4 separate regions of the Homo sapiens genome follow, and regions 1, 2 and 4 are each linked to region 3. Evidence: promoter capture Hi-C in human tissues and cell types (Jung and others, 2019). All regions are on one chromosome and are shown on one strand. Each heading gives the region's core, a stretch centred on a gene start or on the middle of the fragment in contact. The rest is flanking DNA. Distances are from core to core; before and after follow the strand shown. Region 1 overlaps MTMR3 (myotubularin related protein 3). Region 2 has its middle 5.9 kb from the start of MTMR3. Region 3 holds the start of TBC1D10A (TBC1 domain family member 10A). Region 4 overlaps ASCC2 (activating signal cointegrator 1 complex subunit 2).

Region 1 (4,955 bases), core at 469-2,968, 340 kb after region 3:
AAATAATGGACCCATTCTTTAAAAAATATTTTCCACACTAAACAGCAACACAAACATACCATACCACATACCTGATAACTTTGCAGTCTTTGCAAGTCAAATGAAGCTGAAATATATCTCGGCATTCAACACTTTCTATAAGCTGTAATGGAACCTGCAATTTTAAAAAAATGAAGTCCTCTTAGTCAAAAAGGCATTGACCCTGGAGTTCTTCAATGTGTCCAACAAGACTAATTAAAAAGATCTATAAGGGAAAGCAACAAAAATAGAACTGCAAACTTATCTGGATCAACAGTACTCAAGTGATTTACTACAAAGTGAATTAGGACTTCCCTTTATCTCTAAATCAGTGGTCTCAAGTCATGTCATAGCATGAAGGCAACAAAGAGGTGGCACCACCTTTGGAAGAAGGGGAGAATATATCTCTCAGGCACCGAATTCACAAGATCAGAGTACTACTTTTAGATGCTATAACTGACTATGATTTGCAATGATGCAATGACATAGAAGCTGAAGGGAGCCAGAACAGTAATCTTTTCTTGCTTATAGAAAAGAACTACAGATCAGAATGCCAGTGGGAGACTATTGTTTGCCCCAAATGACAGAGTGGGCTTATGGCTTAGTGTCAGCCAATGAGGCTCCTGAAAAAGACTAGAGTTCTAAGCTGACTGTGGATTGCACAGAAAAGACAATGGGGCAATAGCTGCTGGCCAGGCTCTCTACTAAGTAGAATAGACCCAAAAGTATCAAAAAGGAGGGAGAAGGCCATACAGTGATCAAGGATGCTAAAGCTATAATAACTATGTCAGATTTGCTTCAAAAAATCAGTTAGAAGCCCCGTTTGCCAAATGGGGCTTGAGGTTTGAACAAGCTGGAATGGTTCCCCCTTGCCAATCTGGTCTACAGACTCTACTGGACACAGGATTATGTACAACAGCAGATAGAGAGAAGGGAGACAGATAGAAGCAAAAGCATCTAGACAGGGTGCCAAATCTTCAGGATAATATGAGGATCCTCCTCCTATCCCTTAAATCATCCTAATTCAACCCTTGGCTTCAAAAAGCAATTTCTAGGCTTTCAAGGCAAACCTGGTAAAATAATAGTGAATACTTTTACTCCTTGAAAAAGGAGTGGGCCATTTGCCTCTTACAGTGTATCAAGTCTAGCCAAAATGTGGCTCTGGGAGTTGCAAATAGCATTCCAACAACTTGTGTTTAGTATGCAAAGAGGAGGACAGTCTCCTCCAATGCAGACAGGAACAAGAGTACTGTCTGCACAGGCTGGCCCTCGTGTTAGCTGAGCCAGTTTCAGGAACAAGCTTCCTGCAAACTCTGCCCCACCACAGAGCTGCCAGTCAGCACAGAACTCTCAGAATGAGGATGCAGGGATCAAAAAGAAGCCCAGTGCTGGACAAAGAAACAGAAACTGGAGCAGGGGTTAAAGAAGAGAAGAAAGCAAAATAATATTACTCAGATAAATGACTGGGAGTTTCTACCTTAGGACTAAAGTCTTCTTGCTTTTAAGTCTACAGTCTATAAAAATTCCCTTACAAATGTAATAGGACTGGGGGTCAGAAAAAGACTAAGAAATCTTGGCCGGATACGGTGGCTCACGCCTGTAATGCCAACATTTTGGGAGGCCGAGGTGGGCGGATCACCTGAGGTCAGGAGTTTGAGACCAGCCTGACCAACATGGAGAAACCCCATCTCTACTAAAAATACAAAATTATCCAGGTGCGGATAATTTTGGTGCATGCCTGTATTTTGGTGCATGCCTGTATTTGGTGCATGCCTGTATTTGGTGCATGCCTGTAATTTTGGTGCATGTCTGTAATCCCAGCTACTCCAGAGGCTGAGGCGGGAGAATCGCTTGAATCCCAGAGGCAGAGACTGCGGTAAGCTGAGATCGTGTCATTGCACACCAGCCTGGGCAACAAGAGCAAAACTCCATCTCAAAAACAAAAAAAAAAGAAAAGAAAAAAGAAAAATCTTGCCTGTGTTCTGAGAACAAAAGGAGCTTTTGGCCTTCTGTTTTTATTTACGTCCTTAACCCCAAGGTGCTGTGAGAAACTGCAACTGATGCAACTAAGAATTCTTCTGAGACCTGTGCATCTAAGAAGGAAAAAAAAAAACAAACAAACCTACAATTTATCAGAGATAAAACTATAAAGAAGAAATATTGAGATTAAGAAGACAGATTAGAAGATAACTTTGCTTTGTTCTCAGGCCAGTTCTCTGGGTAGCCTGTAACAGACACTTACTGCTTTTTATTTTGTATATACTCCTGCTAACTACCTTACTCACTATATCCCCCCAAAATGTGGCTGCCAGACTGGCAATTAAGAGCCGTGAGTTCTAATCTCAATTTTCTAAAATGTTACCAATTAAAATTTTGCTGGCTTCATTGGGCAAGCCTCCAGCCTTCCCATGTGCCATCAGCCTCTGCTTTCTGAACCTTGGTCACAACTAAGGAAATCTCAGTCATGGGGCCTGGGAAGAGTCTGGGATAGGATTAGAGTGAGCTTTACAAATCCACAAGAAGAGGCTGCTCTTGCAGCAGTCACCTGCATCCCAAGTCCCCTGCAACTGACTTTCTTTATGGACAGAAGACATGAAAACCAGCTAATGCTCTTAGCAGCTGCTGGGGGAAATGGATTAGCCTTTGCTACTTTGCTACAAAGAACAGGTAAGTTTTACATCCTTATTACTAAACCAGAGCCCAATGGCCCGTGCCCAAATTTAATATCATAAAATTATCTCAGACCATGCAAAACATTTGCTACCTAAAATTCAGGCAATATATACATATTTTTTTCTATATTTTAACATCTTAAATTGAAGAAAAAAGAATTAGAATGTTGGTTCTATGCATTGAAATCAGATTGCAGACACCAGCAAGTCACCAAAATCAACCATGTGTATTACAAGTCACAGATACGGAGAACAGCAGATTTTAATATTCATGCAGACTGTCACATGCAGGAAAGCTTAATACGCAGCAAGAATAGGGACATACAAAAGAGAAACACCTGATTTTTATAACAAATATCTCCCTTTTCTTCTCCTTTCTACTGCAGTGTTTCCCTTCAGCACTTCCTGCACAGACTGCCTTTTCTTTCTTTCTTTCTTTCTTTTGAGATGGAGTCTCGTTCTGTTGCCCAGGCTGGAGTGCAATGGCGCGATCTTGGTTCACTGCAACCTCCACCTCCCAGGTTCAAGCTATTCTCCCTGCCTCAGCTTCCTGAGTAGCAGGCACCTGTGATCCCAGCCACCACGCCCAGCTAATTTTTGTATTTTTAGTAGAGATGGGGTTTTGCCATTTGTCCAGGTTGGTATCGAACCCCTGACCTCAGGTGATCCACCCGCCTAGGCCTCCCAAAGTGCTGGAATTACAGGTGTGAGCCACTGCACCCAGTCCAGATTGCCTTTTCTAAAAGGCAGAATTGACCTTCTTTTCCTGTTCATACCTCCATCCAAAACATACTGTTTCTCTATTTTCTTAAGGCCCACTACACTGCTTTAGGTTCAAATTTCCTCACATATGAAAACAATCTCTTAACATTTCTATAACTAGAGATACCCTATATTCAACCTCAAAAGCAAATTACAGATTCAAGAGCCAGTCCACTTTACAGCCCAGGAAGGTTAAACTACTACACTATAAGCTAATATAGTAGTAAAGTCAGGACCAGGATCCATGTCTGTCCTCCAGCCTGGGCTCCTTCCACCATACACGGTGTGTCTTTCTTTCTGCCCCTACACGTGGGCTTCTCTTCCATATGAGCTCTACTTTAGTTTTTCTTTCACAAATAAGTAGCTTCTCCACCAGGGATCTTCAAGAGGAAAACAGAGTTTAAATCAAAACTCCTCAGATGCAATTCCTTTTGTAAAAGAGTAGCAAGATAAACTCACTTTCAAATCCTCTCAAACGTACTGATTCAATGTCTTGTAGCAACTCATTTTCTTTTTGCTCCTCTCTCCTCTATCTCTCCACCTGCCAGGTAACGCAATCTCACCTTACAATGCTTTTCCTAATATAAATTTCACCAAACTCATGCTCAAACAATGCATCAAACACATTCAGTGCTACAACCAATTCCTCAAAAAGCCAAGTTACATTATAGACACTAACACCCTGAAGAGCATCAATCCAAAAAAAGCAGAAGAGCAGCAGTTTAAAAATTTAACAGACATACAGACATGCACAGGTTATGTCCACAGTACTGTCACATTCCAGAGGGAACTGATGCCATCATACCCTACTATATTTACCTCATTTCATTCTGGGTGTGTGTGCATACATGTGCATTATTTTTAAACACCAGAATCTAGAGTGGGATAATTCCTACCTTTTTAAAAACAAACACCCTTTTTATAGCCTGAATGGGAAGTACTAATCTTGTACACGTGAAGTTAAAATGGCAGTAAAAGAGTAAAAATAATGAGTCTAAATCTAAAATCAGTAATAAAGTGGAATATCTGGGCACAAAAATCTTTTCATTTAAAAACTAATCAGGGCCGGGCACGACGACTCACATCTATAAACCCAGCACTTTGGTAGGCTGAGGCAGGAGGATCGCTTGAGCCCAGGAGTTCAAGACCAGCCTGGGCAACATGGTGAAACCCTGTCACTACAATAACATAACATAACATAAAAATAAAATAAATATAATAAAATAAAAATAAAATAAAATAAAAAATTGAGTGCAGTGGCTCACATCTGTAATCCCAGCACTTTGGGAGGCCAAAGTGGGTGCACTGCTTGAGCCCAGGAGTTTTGAGACCAACCTGGGCAACACAGACATCATCTCTACAAAAAATAAAATTAAATTAACTGAACGCGGTGGCATGTGTCTGTAGACCTAGCTACTCAGAAGGCTGAGGTGGGAGGATCACCTAAGCGCAGGAAGTTGAGGCTGCAGTGGGCCATGATGGCGCCAGTGCACTCCAGCCTGG
Region 2 (4,761 bases), core at 2,208-4,707, 450 kb after region 3:
CTATTTGCACCTTCTCATTTTCATAATAGCTAACATGAATTGGAGTGAGTGGCTATTCACCGACCAGATATCAGCACACTACAGCTTCCAACTCCCCGGCTCCAGCAACCCTCCTGCCTCGGCTTCCCTACTGGGTCTAGAGGTATTCACCACTGCAACTGGCTGGATTGAACCTTTCAATTGTGGCGGGCGCTATACGAGCACTTTACATGTATATCTAATGTAATCTTAGGCCGGGCACGGTGGCTCACACCTGTAATCCCAGCACTTGGGGAGGCCGAGGCGGGCAGATCACCTGAGGTCAGGAGTTCGAGACCAGCCTGGCCAACATGGTGAAACCCCATCTCTACTAAAAATACAAAAATTAGCCAGGCATGGTGGCAGGTGCCTGTAATCCCAGCTACTCCGGAGGAAAATTGCTTACTCAGGAAAATTGCTTGAACCCGGGAGGCAGAGGTTGCAGTAAGCCAAGATGGTGCCTCTGCACTCCAGCCTGGGTGACAGAGCGAGACTCTGTCTCAGAAATAAATAAAATAAAATAAAATTTAAAGGTAATGTAATCTTTACAACAACACTATAGGAAGGTATTGTTACTGTCCTCCATTTTACACATAAGAAAGTGTAAAGGTCAGGATTTGAACCCAGAAGATTTGACTCCAAGTTCATGCTTGTCAACTTCATTACTACACCTCATCACCACTGCTGCCCACTTGCTTACCTTTAAGACAGACTTTAGTAAATTATTTATAAATAAGAAAGAGAAAACTGCAGCATGGCCTTGAAAACTCACCTCAAGAAGAAGGGCCTAAGGAGACTCAATAGAAAGCTGGTCTGTGTCTAAAGACTTAAATTTGAATCTTGTCGCCTCCTCATATCTGCTTCTCTTTTCCCTTTTCTATGCGTCAGTTTCCTCATCGCCTTCTAGGGTGGTAATCACTAACCTACTTAACTCATGTTGGCCGGTCTCCGTGGCTCACGCCTGTAATCCCAGCACTTTGGGAGGCAGAGGCGGGTGGATCATGAGGTCAGGAGATCGAGACCATCCTGGCCAACATGATGAAACCCTGTCTCTACTAAAAATACAAAAATTAGTCGGGTGTGGTGGCACGCGCCTGTAGTCCCAGTTACTCTGGAGGCTGAGGCAGGAGAATCGCTTGAGCCTGGGAGGTGGAGATTGCAGTGAGCCGAGATCACGCCACTGCACTCCAGCCTGGCAACAGAGCGAGACTCTGTCTCAAAAAAAAAAAAAAAAAGAAAGAAAAGAAAAAGAAAAAAGAAGCATGTTAGGGTTCTTTAAGGTAATGGGTTTGAGAACGTTTTATATTCCATTTAAAGCCAAAGCAGTGCACAGGTTCCTTGTGTGCTTTGGCTGAAGACAAAGCCCCAGCTTTGTGCACTGACTCAAGGAAAGAGGGAACCAATCCTCGCTTCATCTCGCTGCCCTATTTCTCATGTGAGGTCCTCTACCCGCCTGACCGTCTCCTCCTCCTCCTGCTGTCCTTTCAGCCTTGCTCCCCATCCTATCTTCAAAGCTGAAAATGTTATTCCAGCTACACAGGGACTCTGAAATAGCCTAAGACAGATGAAAATGCTGATTGAGGGTTGGAGGCTTCCTAAAGTCATGCAGGGCCCCTGGAAGGCAGGGGTCCCTCAGCCTCCCAAAATGCAGACTTCCCAACACTGGGTAATACTGCTTAACTCTAAATGTCACTCATTTCAGTGGGCACTTTGCGTGAATTAGCCCATAATCTCTTCAGCATCTCCTTGGTCTCCCAATCCAGCTAGCAGACAGGAGTAACTGTGGTTTTCAGACTTTGAGGAACAATTTGCCACGGGTCAGACAGAAATTAGAGTTGAATCATGTTGCTGTGATTCAATGTCTCCTGGGATTTTCCAAACACCACACTGCAACCCTACTGTAGGAGAGGGTAATTTCAACTCTGATTGAGCCTAGAGCAGTGATTCTCAAAGCATAGTCCACAGGTCCCTGGAGGGTCCTGAGACTTTTTCAGGGTTCTAGTTGGGTCAAAACTATTTTCATAGGCCAGGAGTGGTGGCTCACACCTGTAATCCCAGCACTTTGGGAGGCCGAGGCAGGCAGGTCACTTGAGGTCAGGAGTTTGAGACCAGCCTAGCCAATATAGTGAAGCCCCATCTCTACTAAAAATACAAAAATTAGCTGGGCATGGTGGCGGGCGTGTGTAATCCCAGCTACTCATGAAGCTGAGGCAGGAGAATCGCTTGAACCCAGGAGGCAGAGGTTGCAGTGAGCCGAAATTGCGCTACTACACTCCAGCCTGGGCGACAGAGTGAGACTCCATCTCAAAATAAATAAATAAATATAAAATAAATAAAAACTATTTTAATAATACTAAGAAATTGTTTGCCTTTTTACTGTGTTGACATTTGCACTAATAGTGCAAAAGCAGTGGTAGTAAAACTGGTGGCACTTTATCACAAATCAAGGCAGTGATATGATATGTACTAGTAGCCATTGTACTCTTCACCAACATACCCTAGTAGTAAACAAAATGCCAGTTTCACTTAAGAAAATCATTGATGAAGCAGTAACAAAAAATATGTATTTTATTATCTCTATATATTTGAATACAAGCCTTTTTACTATTCTGTGTGATGGATTGGAAATTACACATAAAGCCCTTTTTTCACTTTTTCAATTGAGGTGAAATTCACATAACATGAAATTAATCATTTTAAGTGGACAATTCAGTGGCATTTTGTGCATTCACAATGTTATGCAACCACTACTTCTGTCCCATTCCAAAACGTTTTCATCACTGTAAAATAAAGCCCTCTACCTATTAGGCACTTATTTCCCACACACAAAAAGCACGTTTACTATTCAGAAGTAGGACAGTGGTCTCAAAGAAAAACACTTTTGCAATTGTTTGAGTTGCAAGATGAGCTAGCCTCTTGTTTAAGGAAATATCATTTTTACTTGAAAGAATGGTTAACATGCAAACTACAGTTACTCAGATTTGGGTGTTTGGCAGACATTTTCTCAAAAATATATGAAGTAGGTTTGTCACATCTAGTAAGACAGCTAATAGTATTTGTTGTCAATGATAAAATTCAAGCTTACTTACAATTTTGGAAAACTTAAATGTCCCACCATGAGCTTGACAGCCTCCCAATATACCTTCCCAATACATCTGCTGAGACGGTTGGTGATATTAGCAAAATGAATATTTTATATCATATAATGAAATGTGCCAACATTTTAAAGCACTACATAGTAAACCAATATTTTCCATATGACCAATGCATGATATTATTGGGCGTGGCCATGCATGCCTGTAATCCCAGCTACTCGGGAGGCTGAGGCAGGAGAATCACTTGAACTCAGGAGGCAGAGGTTGCAGTGAGCCAAGATCGTGCCACTGCACTGCAACCTGGATGACAGAGTGAGACTGTCTCAAAAAAAAAAAAAAAAGTATAAGGTAGACCAATGGATTTTAGTGTGAGTATGAAAAATTCATTGATATGAATTTATGCAAATAAACTTTAAGAAACTATTACCTGCCAACCTTTGGTGTAGTATCAAGAAAGAATATCCACAATGAACTGAAATATATAAGGCTGCATTTTCTTCATGTACTTTAACCAAAACAAATTGCCCCAGACTAAATGCAGAAGCAGATATGAGAATGCAGAATTCTTCCATTGTCAGACTTTAATGAAAATTGCAAACATGTTAAAAACAATGCCATTCTTCTCATGAAATTTTTTGTGTGAGAAAATATAGATTTTTTACATAAAAATATGTCATTTATGTTAACACATCATGGATTTACCATGATATTTTTTAAATAACGTCATTTTTTAACTATTAGCAAACCAAATTCAACAGCACATTAACAAGATCATTCACCATGATCAAGTGGGATTTATCCCTGGGATGCAAGGATGGTTCAAATCAATAAATATCAATCAATATACAAATCAATAAATGTGATACACCACATTAACAGAGTGAAGGGCAAAACCATCCCATCATCTCAATAGACACAGAAAGGGCACTTGATAAAATTCAGTATCCTTTCATGATAAAACTCCCAACAAATTAGGTATAGGAGAAATGTATCCCAACATAAGAAAGGCCATATATGACAAGCCCATAGCTAATATCATACTCAATGGTACAAAGCTGAAAACTTTTTCTCTAAGATCAGGAATAAGATAAGGACCCCTACTCTCACCACTTCTATTCAACATAGTACAGGAAATCCTAGCCAGAGCAATTAGGCAAGAGAAAGAAATAAAAGGCATCCAAATCAGAAGGGAAGACGTTAAATAGTCTCTGTTTACGGACAACATGATCATATGTATGGAAAACCCTAAAGACTCCACCAGGAAACCATTAGAACTAATAAACAAATTCAGTTAAGTTCCAGGATGCAAAATCAGCACACAAAGATTAGTAGCACTTCTGTATACTAACAACATAACAACTAATTATCCAAAAAAGGAATCAAGAAAACAATCCCATTCACAATAGCTACCAAAAGAAAAATACTTAGAAATAAATTTAACCAAGGAGGTAAAAGATCTGTACACTAAAAACTATAAAACAACGATGAAACAAACTGAAGAAGGCAAATTAACAGAAAGATATCCCTTGTTTTTGGACTGAAAGAATTGACATTGTTAAAATATCTGTATTATCCAAAGCAATCTACAGGTTCAATACTAGCCTATCAAAATTCCAATGACAGTTTTCACAGAAATTTTTTTAAAGTT
Region 3 (4,734 bases), core at 382-2,881:
TCTGAGTCTTCCAGTCCCTTCCCCTCTCTAGGCCTGTCTCTCCCACAGGTCTGCAGGGAGTGTCAGATGACAATATACTGTGACTTGTAAACCATAAAGTACTAGACATAAGCGAGGAGCTATCATTATATTATAGATCCAAGAGTTGACAATCTCTAGGGTCAGAAATCAGCTGCTTGGGGCTAAGCCCATATAGATAAAATCGGCCCATCCCTCCAAATATAGGCAGTTGGTAAGAGCTAAGTTCGAATCCTGGCTATATTCACAGCTAATTCTGGGACCTTAGGCAACTGACTTTACCTCAGTCTCCTTAACTGTAAAATGGGACTAATAATGGTGTATACCTCATTGCTAAGAGATTACAAGACATGTTGCAACCAATTTGGAAAACAGTTTGCCAGTTCCTCGAAAGGTTAAACAGTTGCCATATGACCCAGCAATTCCACTCTTCCTTATCTATCCAAGAGAAATGTAAACATAAGGCCCCCACACAAAAGCTTGTACCTGAATGGTCAGAGCAGCATTATTCATAATGGCTAAAAACTAGAAACACGCGAATGACCATCACTGATGAATGGAAAAACAAAATCTGGTATAGTCCCAGCTCCCAGGAGGGGCAGTATAGGTCTTTCATGGCGGTGTGGGCCTATCCCAGGAAAGGGAGGGGTGGAGTCAGACATACCTGGGGCAGATGTGAATCCAGAAGCACTGATACATGCTACAATGTGGATGAAACTTGAAAATGTTCAAGAGAAAGAATCCAGACATAAAAGGCCATATATTGTATAATTCCATTTATATGAAATATCCAGAAAAGGGACATCTATAGAAACAGGAAGCAGATTAGTGGTTGCCAGGGACTGGGGGAGCCAGGATGCGGAGTGACTGCTAATTGGTAGGAGTTTCTTTTTGGGGTGATGAAAATGTTCTAAAATTAGAATGTTGTGATGGCTGCACAACTCTGTAAATATGCTAAAAATCATTGTACACTTTAAACGTGAATTTATGGTATGTTTATGTTCCATAAAACTGCTGGGGAAAAGACTACAGGAGAAAGTAGGTAGAGCTTCGGGCGTGCGTGGCTCAGTAAACGCTGGTGATTATTAATAATTAGGTCTCACGAGGTAATTTAAAGCCCCAGAAGCAGTGAGTGCAATGGGACTGCCAGACTTCTGGCTCAGGCTGGGCCTTTAAGCCGCTCTGCGTCCCTGAACTCACTTGGGCCTCCTCAGAGTTCCTCATAAATGAATGGGGCAAACAATCCCTACCACGTCCTTGGGGTCTCGCAGGGAGCGGGGCTCAGGAGGCAGATGAGGAATCCATGGAGGAAGCCCTGGGCCTCCGGCTCGCGCTCTGCAGTAGGTGACAGGCCCCGCTTGGAGCCAACCCGGAAAGGCCCGAGCTCGTCCAGGTGAGTTCTTGTGATTGGCAGCCCGGAGGAGGGCGGGGAGGGCTGCGGTGACGGCTGCCCCGCCCCCTCACTTCGGGCTTGTTGGCGCCCGCCGGGGGAGGGTGGGCGGGGCCCGGGGTCCGCGGCGCCCATTGGGCGTGGGGGGAGAGCTCCGGGGTGGGCCTGGAGCCCCGCCCCCCGGCCTTGCGGCGGCCAATAGGCGCCGCGCGTGGGCGGGGCGTCGGCGGCAGCAGGGCGGCTGAGGTGGCCGCTGGAGCTCAGGCGGCGGGCGCGGCTGGGATGGCGAAGAGCAACGGAGAGAATGGGCCGCGCGCGCCCGCGGCCGGGGAAAGCCTGTCGGGAACCCGGGAGAGCCTGGCCCAGGGCCCCGACGCCGCAACCACCGACGAACTCAGCTCTCTCGGGTCTGACTCGGAGGCCAACGGCTTCGCCGAGCGCCGCATCGACAAGTTCGGCTTCATCGTGGGCTCGCAGGGCGCCGAGGGCGCGTGAGTAGCGCCGGGGGTCGGGACTGAGCGCGCCACCCACGCGAGGGGCCTCGACACGGACGGAGGCGCCCTCGGGACTTGCCGACACGTCCCCCTCCCAGGCAGGGACCACTAATCCCCGTTCCCTCCCCTGCCCCACCCCCACCACCCCTGCCTTCCTAGACCCGCCCCCTTCGCAGTCCTACTTCCGACCCAGGGGGCGGACGGGCCCACACCTCCACCCGCCACCTCCACCCTCCGGACAGACTGACCCGCTCCCAGGAAGGACCGACTGTGCCCTCCTTCCAGCCGTGGAACAGAATGACAGACTGCCCCAAACCCACCCCTGCCGCCAAGACCTTAGGGATGATTGTTTCTGCCACCCCGACAGGCTCCCAGATGGCTGGCGCCCCCCTCCATAGACACTCATTCTCCATCTTTCCCCCTCCCACAAACCCACAGACGCCCTTGTCTCCCCGCCTCACTGCCCCCACACCAGGAGACCTCAGACCGACTTCAGGACTGACTGCCCCGCCCCCACCCCTTCCCAGGACAGACTGACCCTTTCCTCGAGGCATACAGACCTCTGGATGGACAGACATTGGTCACCTCCCTCCCCTCAGCTCCATCCTGGGACAGACAGTCCCTTCTCCTCATGGAAGGGTCGGAGAAGGGCCCCCTATCCGCTCATACACAGCTTCCTCCACTGGCACTGGCAACAGGTGGGCAGGTACTCCCCCTTCCCAGCACGTACAGGGCGACAGGGAGCCCCACCACTAGGACAGACCATCAGCTCCAGCAGCCACAGGAGCCAGTAGATGGGCTCTGTGTATGTCCTGTGTATGTATGCGCCTCCTCCCAAGGGCAGATCTTGGGCGTGGGACGGGGGCAGGCAGGGAGACAGCAGGGTCCCTGCTCATATTAGCACCCCCCGATGTCCTATCCCGAGAGCACCCAGACACCCAGCTAGCAGACAGAGAAATGTGGGGCAGTGGAACAGCACCTTGCCTCCAAGCTGGGCCCCATGTTGCCCCACAGAATCCCCCGAGCCCAGGCCTCAGAGATCATGTGTACAGGCTGGCGGTCCCCTTAGGAAAGATGGACTCCATACCCCACTCCCATCCCAGCTGTCCTGTCACGTGAGACCAGTGTTGTGCACAGAACTGACAAGACTCCCTCCTGATGTGTGCTTTCCATCCCAATCACCAGTAGGAGCTCCTGGGGCCCTGCCATGACCCTACTCCAGAGAATATCCTTTCTCCCTTTCTCTGACCAATTGAGATTGTCCAAGGTCACCCCAGACTCTCTCATGACTTATGGAAGCGCTTTAACTGTCTAAGAACCCCTGTCACTTCCGGGATTTTCCCCAGCCCTAAAGCCTCTTATTCACCAGGCCTCCTTCTTCCTTGGAGAAATCCAGGCCCCTCCCCTAAGGGGAGTTCCCTCTCACCCACTGGATCTGTCTCCTCCAGTATCTCCCTACTGGCTCACAGCAGGCTAGGTTTAGTCCAGGACTCAGAGAGAGCACCCCTCATTCTGAACCCTCACCCTGACTGATGCTTTGTCACAGTTCCCCAGGGATTCACTTGTGAGAACTTAGTGGGGACCTGGAGTGTTTTGAATTGAGGAGCAGTCACCTGGGATTAGGACCCAGGGAGGTGTGTGGTCTTGAGATCTAGGAAAGGAGTTCCCAGTTGCATTTATGGGACCTTGGAAGGAAGAGCTCAGATTTGTGGGAGAATGCTAGGGCATGAGAGTTCCTACTACATGCTTATCAGGCAATCAACCAGATCTTGGGGTGCAGAGCAATGTGATATATTAGGAAAAGGCCAAACTTAGGAATTACACTTGCTAGCTTTGTGACCTTGGGCAAGATCCTGAATCTCTGAGCCTGTTTACTCACTGTAAAGGGCGACAGTAACACCCACTTCCCAACATTACTCTGGGGGTTAAATGAGTATATGATACGTGAAGGTGCCTGGCACAGCGCTTGTCACAAGTAGCGGCCCAGAAAATGTTAGTTTTCTTTCTTTCCTTCTAAGGGTCTGAGAAATGAAGAGAAAAATGAGGGCATATCTCTGGTATTTGTGGGCAGAGTGAGGCCCCAGTGGAAGCACCTCCCTTTGGCTGTAGTCCCCAACCAGGCAGCCAGACATCTGTCTTTCTTACCCCACAACCACAAACCCGGGATGTGGCTCTGCAGACACCCTCTACATGGCTGCTGTCTGTAGGGCTGGGGCTGAGGTGGGATCCCAGCTCCAGTCCTCTCTCCTTCCCTCACTTTCTGGAGCCTGTCAGTCAACCTAAAATCTCTGGTATCTGAAAGCTTCGATGTTCCCTACTTAATTTATATTGTGGTTTCAAAAAAGCCAAGAGTAAGTCCCTGCCCAAGGCCATAGAGGGGAAGTTATGGAAAGCTTCAGGGTGACCGCCCTGAACCCAGTCTCGTGGTTGAAGGCTAGGAGTCCATGTTCTATGCTAGAGAAGTGAAACGTTAGCCCTCATGGGTACTGTGGAGATGGTGGGGACTCTGACTCCAGATTAAAGGTCCATTTCAGCTACCCTGGGCCAAAGGTTGTCTTAAGACATTTTGGATGTGGAAGTTGCCAGGCCTGGGGGTAAGAAAGCAGGTCACAGGCTACCTTACTGAGGTGACTATTAGCTACATGGCATGAGTAGATTAAAAAAACCATAGACTGCACTGTAAGGGATCTTTTTTTTTTGAGACGGAGTCTCGCTCTGTCACCCAGGCTGGAGTGCAGTGGCGCAGTCTCAACTCACTGCAACATCTGCCTCCCGGGTTCAAGTGATTCTCCTGTCTCAGCCTCCTGAGTAGCTGGGAGGCAGAGATTGCAC
Region 4 (5,156 bases), core at 2,657-5,156, 500 kb after region 3:
GTGCTGGAGCTATAAAGAGAAAAGACATGGTCTCTGCCCTTGAAGAGCCCACGACCTAAGAGAAAGACAGACCAGTAGCTTCTCTAGTGTGATCAGGGTTGTGACAGAAGGAAGTCTAGGCTGTTCCATGAGTGCAGAGCCGGGGCCGCCGATCCAGACCAGTGGGGTGTGTAGGGGCAGGGAGGCTTTGGCCTGGTGGGAGGGTACGTGCAGCCCAGGAGGGCTTCCTGAAGGAAAGGGCTTCTGAACTGGGTATTGAAGGGCAACTTAACACTAGCTGGGCAGAGCAACAGGAGAAGGCTGGACCTGGTAGGACAACCTTAGTATGCAGTTCTGGAGTCTTGAGAGATCCTGACTCTTACACTAACCACAAGTCACTTGAGGTGGCAACAGTATAGCAGAGTTAGCAAGTACAGGCTTCGTGTTCATTTCACACATATTTGAATATTTGTCTTTGTGTCTTTGGGCAAGTTATTGAACCTCTCTAAGCCTCAAATCCAAAAGCGATAATAATAGGACCAGCTTTGCAGGGTGGTTGTGGGGATTAAATGAGATGCCTGTGAATGAGCACTGTGCCTGGAACATAGTAAGCACTCAATAAATTGTTATTACAATGGTGATGACAGCAGGGACAACAACAGCAGCACTAAATTGGGGGTATGGTGGGAAGGCAGATGAGTTGAGGGAGACAGCTGCCTGATCGAAGAGGGGTCTTGCTGGCAGACTGAAGAGTGTTACTCTGAAGGCCACGGGCAGCTCCTGAAAGATTGTACTAAGATATGTGTCCACCCTATATTTGTCCCTTTAGTCTTGGCTTGGGGCATGATCTCTAGCCAAAGGGTAGTTACCACACCACCTTTTCAGGGTAATTGGTAGAGCTAATGTTGGTTGAGGATCTATTTGAATAGCACATACTTGAAGACCCAAAAGAAATAGTCTTGTGGCCAGGCCCGGTAGCTCACGCCTGTAATCCCAGCACTTTGGGAGGCTGAGGCAGGTAGATCACTTGAGCCCAGGAGTTCAAGACCAGCTCGGGCAACATGGCAAAACCATTTTTTTTTTTTCCCAGACAGAGTCTTGCTCTGTCGCCTAGGCTGGAGTGCAGTGGCGCGATCTCGGCTCACTGCAACCTCCGCCTCCCGGGTTCAAGTGATTCTTCTGCATCAGCCTCCTGAGTAGCTGGGACCAGCTAATTTTTGTGTTTTTAGCAGAGACGGGGTTTCACCATGTTGGCCAGGCTAGTCTCGAACTCCTGACCTTGTGATCCGCCCGCCTTGGCCTCCTAAAGCACTGGGATTACAGGCGTGAGCCACCACGTCCAGTCAGCCTCCATTCATTTCTTTGTCCAGCCAGCAGATCTGTACAGAAAGTCTGCTCAATGCCAGGTGGTGTTCTATAGACTCGGAATGCTGGGTGAGCAAAGCTCAGACTGCCTCCAGACACCTACAAGCTAGTGGGGGAGACAGCTGGGAAGACCAGTCCTCCCCTTTTATACAGCTTTATTCAGGCATTGTTGAAGGACAATAAACTGCACATATTTAAAATATACAATTTGCCAACACCTATGAAAAGAAAGGGAATTTTTTTTTTGAGGTGGAGTCTAACCTGTTGCCCAGGCTGGGGTGCAGTGGCATGATCTCTGCTCACTGCAACCTCCGCCTCCCAGGTGCAAGTGATTCTCCTGCCTCAGCCTCCCGAGTAGCTGGGACTATAGGTGCGTGCCACTACACCTGGCTAAGTTTTGTATTTTTGATAAGAGATGGGATTTCACAGTGTTGGCCAGGCTGGTCTCAAACTCCTGGCCTCAAGTGATGGGCCTGACTTGGCCTCCGAAAGTGCTGGGATTACAGGCATGAGCCACTGTACCCAGCCAACATTTTAAAAATTAAAACGTAAAATATGCAATTTGATTGGTTTTTCCATCTGTATGCATGCATGAAACTATCATCATCAATGAGCATTTCTACCACCCCTGAAAGTTTTCTTGTGCCTCTCTGCAATCCATGCCTTCCTCCCACCCTTTCCCCATCCAAACCACTGATCTGAAAGCACTTTTAATGCTGTTCAAGTGGTATAGAGAGGTGAGCACAGAATGCAGGTGCTGAGGGAGAGCTTAGATGAGCTCCTAATCCAGCTGGGATGGGAGTCAGGGAGGCTTCCTGGAAGAGGTGAGATTGGAACTGGGGTCAGAAGGACAATCAGTGAGACCAGGATGGCACACAGATACCATAGGTCATTTAATAGGTCTGCAGTGTAAGCTTTGGCTCAAATCCTGCCTCAGTTGCCTCTTTAATCCCATGACCTTGGGAAAGTTCCTGAAACTTACTGTTTGATTCCTCCTCTAAAATGGGATGAATACTATGTCTCTTTTAAATAGTTTTTGTAGATTAAAAAAATAGGGGCTGTGGGTTGTGCCTGCTTAGTGGCTGGCACAGGGCAGGTCCACAATGAGTGGCAGCTTTCATTTGCACCATTCCAGCATTCACCAAATCTGTCTCCCACCGCCCAGTGCAATCTGTGCCCTTTTGTTATGACCCATGTTTATGCCTCCATAAAAATGTTTCTTCCATTTGAAGTCCTTATCCTCGAATGCTTGGAGCCTTGGAGGAAGTCTGCTTGCTCTGGGAAGCCGTCCCTTATCCTCCAGGTGCTATTAATTCCCTTCTGCATTTCCACAGTCCCTCTGCCAGGTTTGAGCTGTCACTTCCTTTGTTTTGTGCTCACTTGGTGATTTAGATGTCCATCTTCCCCCTGTGGGATTGTAGGGAAAGTAGAATCTCAGGGGTGTGTGTGTGTGTGTGTGTGTGTGTGTGTGTCAGAAGAATGAGTAGCCTGGTGTGTGTGTGTGTGTGTGTGTGTGTGTGTCAGAAGAATGAGTAGCCTGGTGTGTGTGTGTGTGTGTGTGTGTCAGGAGAATGAGTAGTCTGGGTGTATGTGTGTGTGTGTGTGTGTGTCAGAATGAGTAGCCTGGTTGTGTGTGTGTGTGTGTGTGTGTGTGTGTGTGTGTCGGGAGAATGAGTAGCCTGGCCTGAGTGAGAAGTGAGGGAAGAGGTAAAGTGCCAACAGATAGAAGAGGGAGGAAGCTTGGAAACCAAGGAGATGTATTTCGGCTCCTGACAGTTGTTTTGAACTTGTTTCAGCCAGCAGAATTTCTTTTTCAACAGATTTGTACCTGTAACTCCATGATACAAATTTGATTTAAATGGGAGGGGGTCCTGCAGACCCACATGAGAGGTGGCCTTGAAGAATCCTTGTGGTACCCACAGGCTCTACAGTTTGGAAACTCGCGTAAGGCACTAGGAAGGCATAGATGGTTCTTGAGGAGGCTGACCTCTTATCAGTCTCAATTTTTCTATATCCCCTGGATCAACAGACCTGGAAGTGGATGGACTGTGGTTGATAAGAGCTGACACATTGCCTGGCCATCCTCCTGCTACCACTTCCCCAGAGAAAGCACCCGTTATGTAGTCAGAGGAGAAAACTGAGCCCATCTCCTCTTTATGGTGAACAAAGTAAGGTTTGTTCATGGCAAGTAGGGGCTGGAAGGGAGAACTTGTGATTCTACGCTGAGACTTACTTACAAAAAAATAAAAAACAAAAAAAAAGGAAAGAACAGACCCAGACAAATTGTTTCATGGGTATAATTTTTTTTTTTTTTTTTTTTTTTGAGATGGAGTCTGGCTCTGTCAGCCAGGCTGGGGTGCAGTGGCGTGATCTCGGTTCACTGCAAGCTCTGCCTCCCGGGTTCACGCCGTTCTTCTGCCTCAGCCTCCCGAGTAGCTGGGACTACAGGCGCCCGCCACCATGCCCGGCTAATTTTTTTGTATTTTTAGTAGAGACGGGGTTTCACTGTGCTAGCCAGGATGGTCTCGATCTCCTGACCTCGTGATCTGCCTGCCTCAGCCTCCCAAAGTGCTGGGATTATAGGCATGAGCCACTGTGCCTGGCCTTTATGGGTATAATTTAATGTAAATGCCTGGAAGAGGTCTGCAAGGACACCCATCAGATGGTGAGTGGTTACCTCTGCAGGGAACATGGGGCCTGGGAGTGTAGTCCCAGGCAGCTCACCTTCTCTGTACCTTGTAAGTTTTTGAAAGAAAAGATGCTTGTGTCAAATTATATAATTAAAAATTAATTTAAAAAGTAATATATGTGGCCAGGAGAGGTGGCTCAAACCTGTAATCCTAGCACTTTGGGAGGCCAAGGCAGGCGGATGGCTTGAGCCCAGGAGTTTGAGACCACCTGGGCAACATGGCAAAACCCCATCTCTACTAAAAAAAAATTAGCCAGGCATGGTGGTGTGCACCTGTAGTCCCAGCTACTTGGGAGGCTGAGGTGGGGGATCACCTAAGCCCAGGAGGTAGAGGCTGCCGTGAGCCAAGATTATGCCACTCCACTTCAGCCTGGGCAACGGGAGTGAGACCTGTCTCAAAAACAAAACAAAACAAAACAAAAGTAATATATGAATATATGTTCTTTTTTTTTTTTTAATGGGAAAGTCTATTCAAGCCACAATTCACCACCCCCCGCCCCCATCAGAGATAACCACTATTAGCTTTGGGGCGTCATCTCCCCAGCTTCTTTTTTAAAAATCAATACCAGTGTGTGAATATACTTACACTTTTTAAAGACCGAAAACTATGCTCTGGTTTTTCTTCATAACAAATAAATCTTTTGCCTTTTACTAAAAAAGGAAAATGAAAACTGATTATATTAAACAGAGAGTTTTGTATCCTGCTTTCTCTTCCCTTAACCTTTCCCCGTGTCATTAAATCCACTCCGAAAACATGGATTTTAATTACCGCCTAGTGTTCGCTGAATGCAACCATGCCCTCTTTGTTAGATACACTTGGTTCTTTATGCTTAAAAGCTCCTTGGAGGGTCACCGGTTGGAACAGCCAAGTGTTGTCATTGCTGTGGGTTGGCAAATGGGCCCTCGCTGACTAACCTCTGCCACGTTAACACGTGGTTTTTGGATCCGTAGCACCCCGAGCAGAAGGCAGACCGGTATTTTGTGTTATACAAACCGCCCCCTAAAGACAACATTCCCGCCCTAGTGGAGGAGTACCTGGAACGCGCCACCTTCGTAGCCAATGACCTCGACTGGCTCCTGGCCTTGCCTCACGATAAATTCTGGTGCCAGGTAACATTCTATC

What was found. Contacts are between HindIII fragments. The study calls those that stand out against the background at their distance.
Region 1: a contact is called between a fragment that was not itself captured here and the fragment with the promoter of TBC1D10A in region 3, in 1 of the 25 tissues and cell types used here (dorsolateral prefrontal cortex).
Region 2: a fragment that was not itself captured here is called in contact with the fragment with the promoter of TBC1D10A in region 3 in 1 of the 25 tissues and cell types used here (hippocampus).
Region 4: a fragment that was not itself captured here is called in contact with the fragment with the promoter of TBC1D10A in region 3 in 2 of the 25 tissues and cell types used here (H1 embryonic stem cells and hippocampus).

The regions. Positions count from the first base shown.
Region 1 is chr22:29,983,679-29,988,633 of GRCh38, reverse strand. MTMR3 (myotubularin related protein 3) reads right to left here. Exons shown (of 20, transcript NM_021090.4): 6 at 72-154. Among named protein-coding and RNA genes, the nearest start is that of MIR6818, 21 kb to the left of the region's middle. The HindIII fragment of the contact is 5,304 bases long and covers 1-4,370 here.
Region 2 is chr22:29,874,926-29,879,686 of GRCh38, reverse strand. No RefSeq gene overlaps it. Among named protein-coding and RNA genes, the nearest start is that of MTMR3, 5.9 kb to the left of the region's middle. The HindIII fragment of the contact is 5,221 bases long and covers 847-4,761 here.
Region 3 is chr22:30,323,838-30,328,571 of GRCh38, reverse strand. TBC1D10A (TBC1 domain family member 10A) reads left to right here and starts at 1,631. Exons shown (of 9, transcript NM_031937.3): 1 at 1,631-1,899. The coding sequence starts at 1,691. RefSeq lists silencers at 1,379-1,708, 2,009-2,058 and an enhancer at 2,275-3,224. The HindIII fragment of the contact is 10,227 bases long and covers 1-4,734 here.
Region 4 is chr22:29,825,609-29,830,764 of GRCh38, reverse strand. ASCC2 (activating signal cointegrator 1 complex subunit 2) reads left to right here. Exons shown (of 20, transcript NM_032204.5): 3 at 4,985-5,143. Among named protein-coding and RNA genes, the nearest start is that of ASCC2, 10 kb to the left of the region's middle. The HindIII fragment of the contact is 7,224 bases long and covers 295-5,156 here.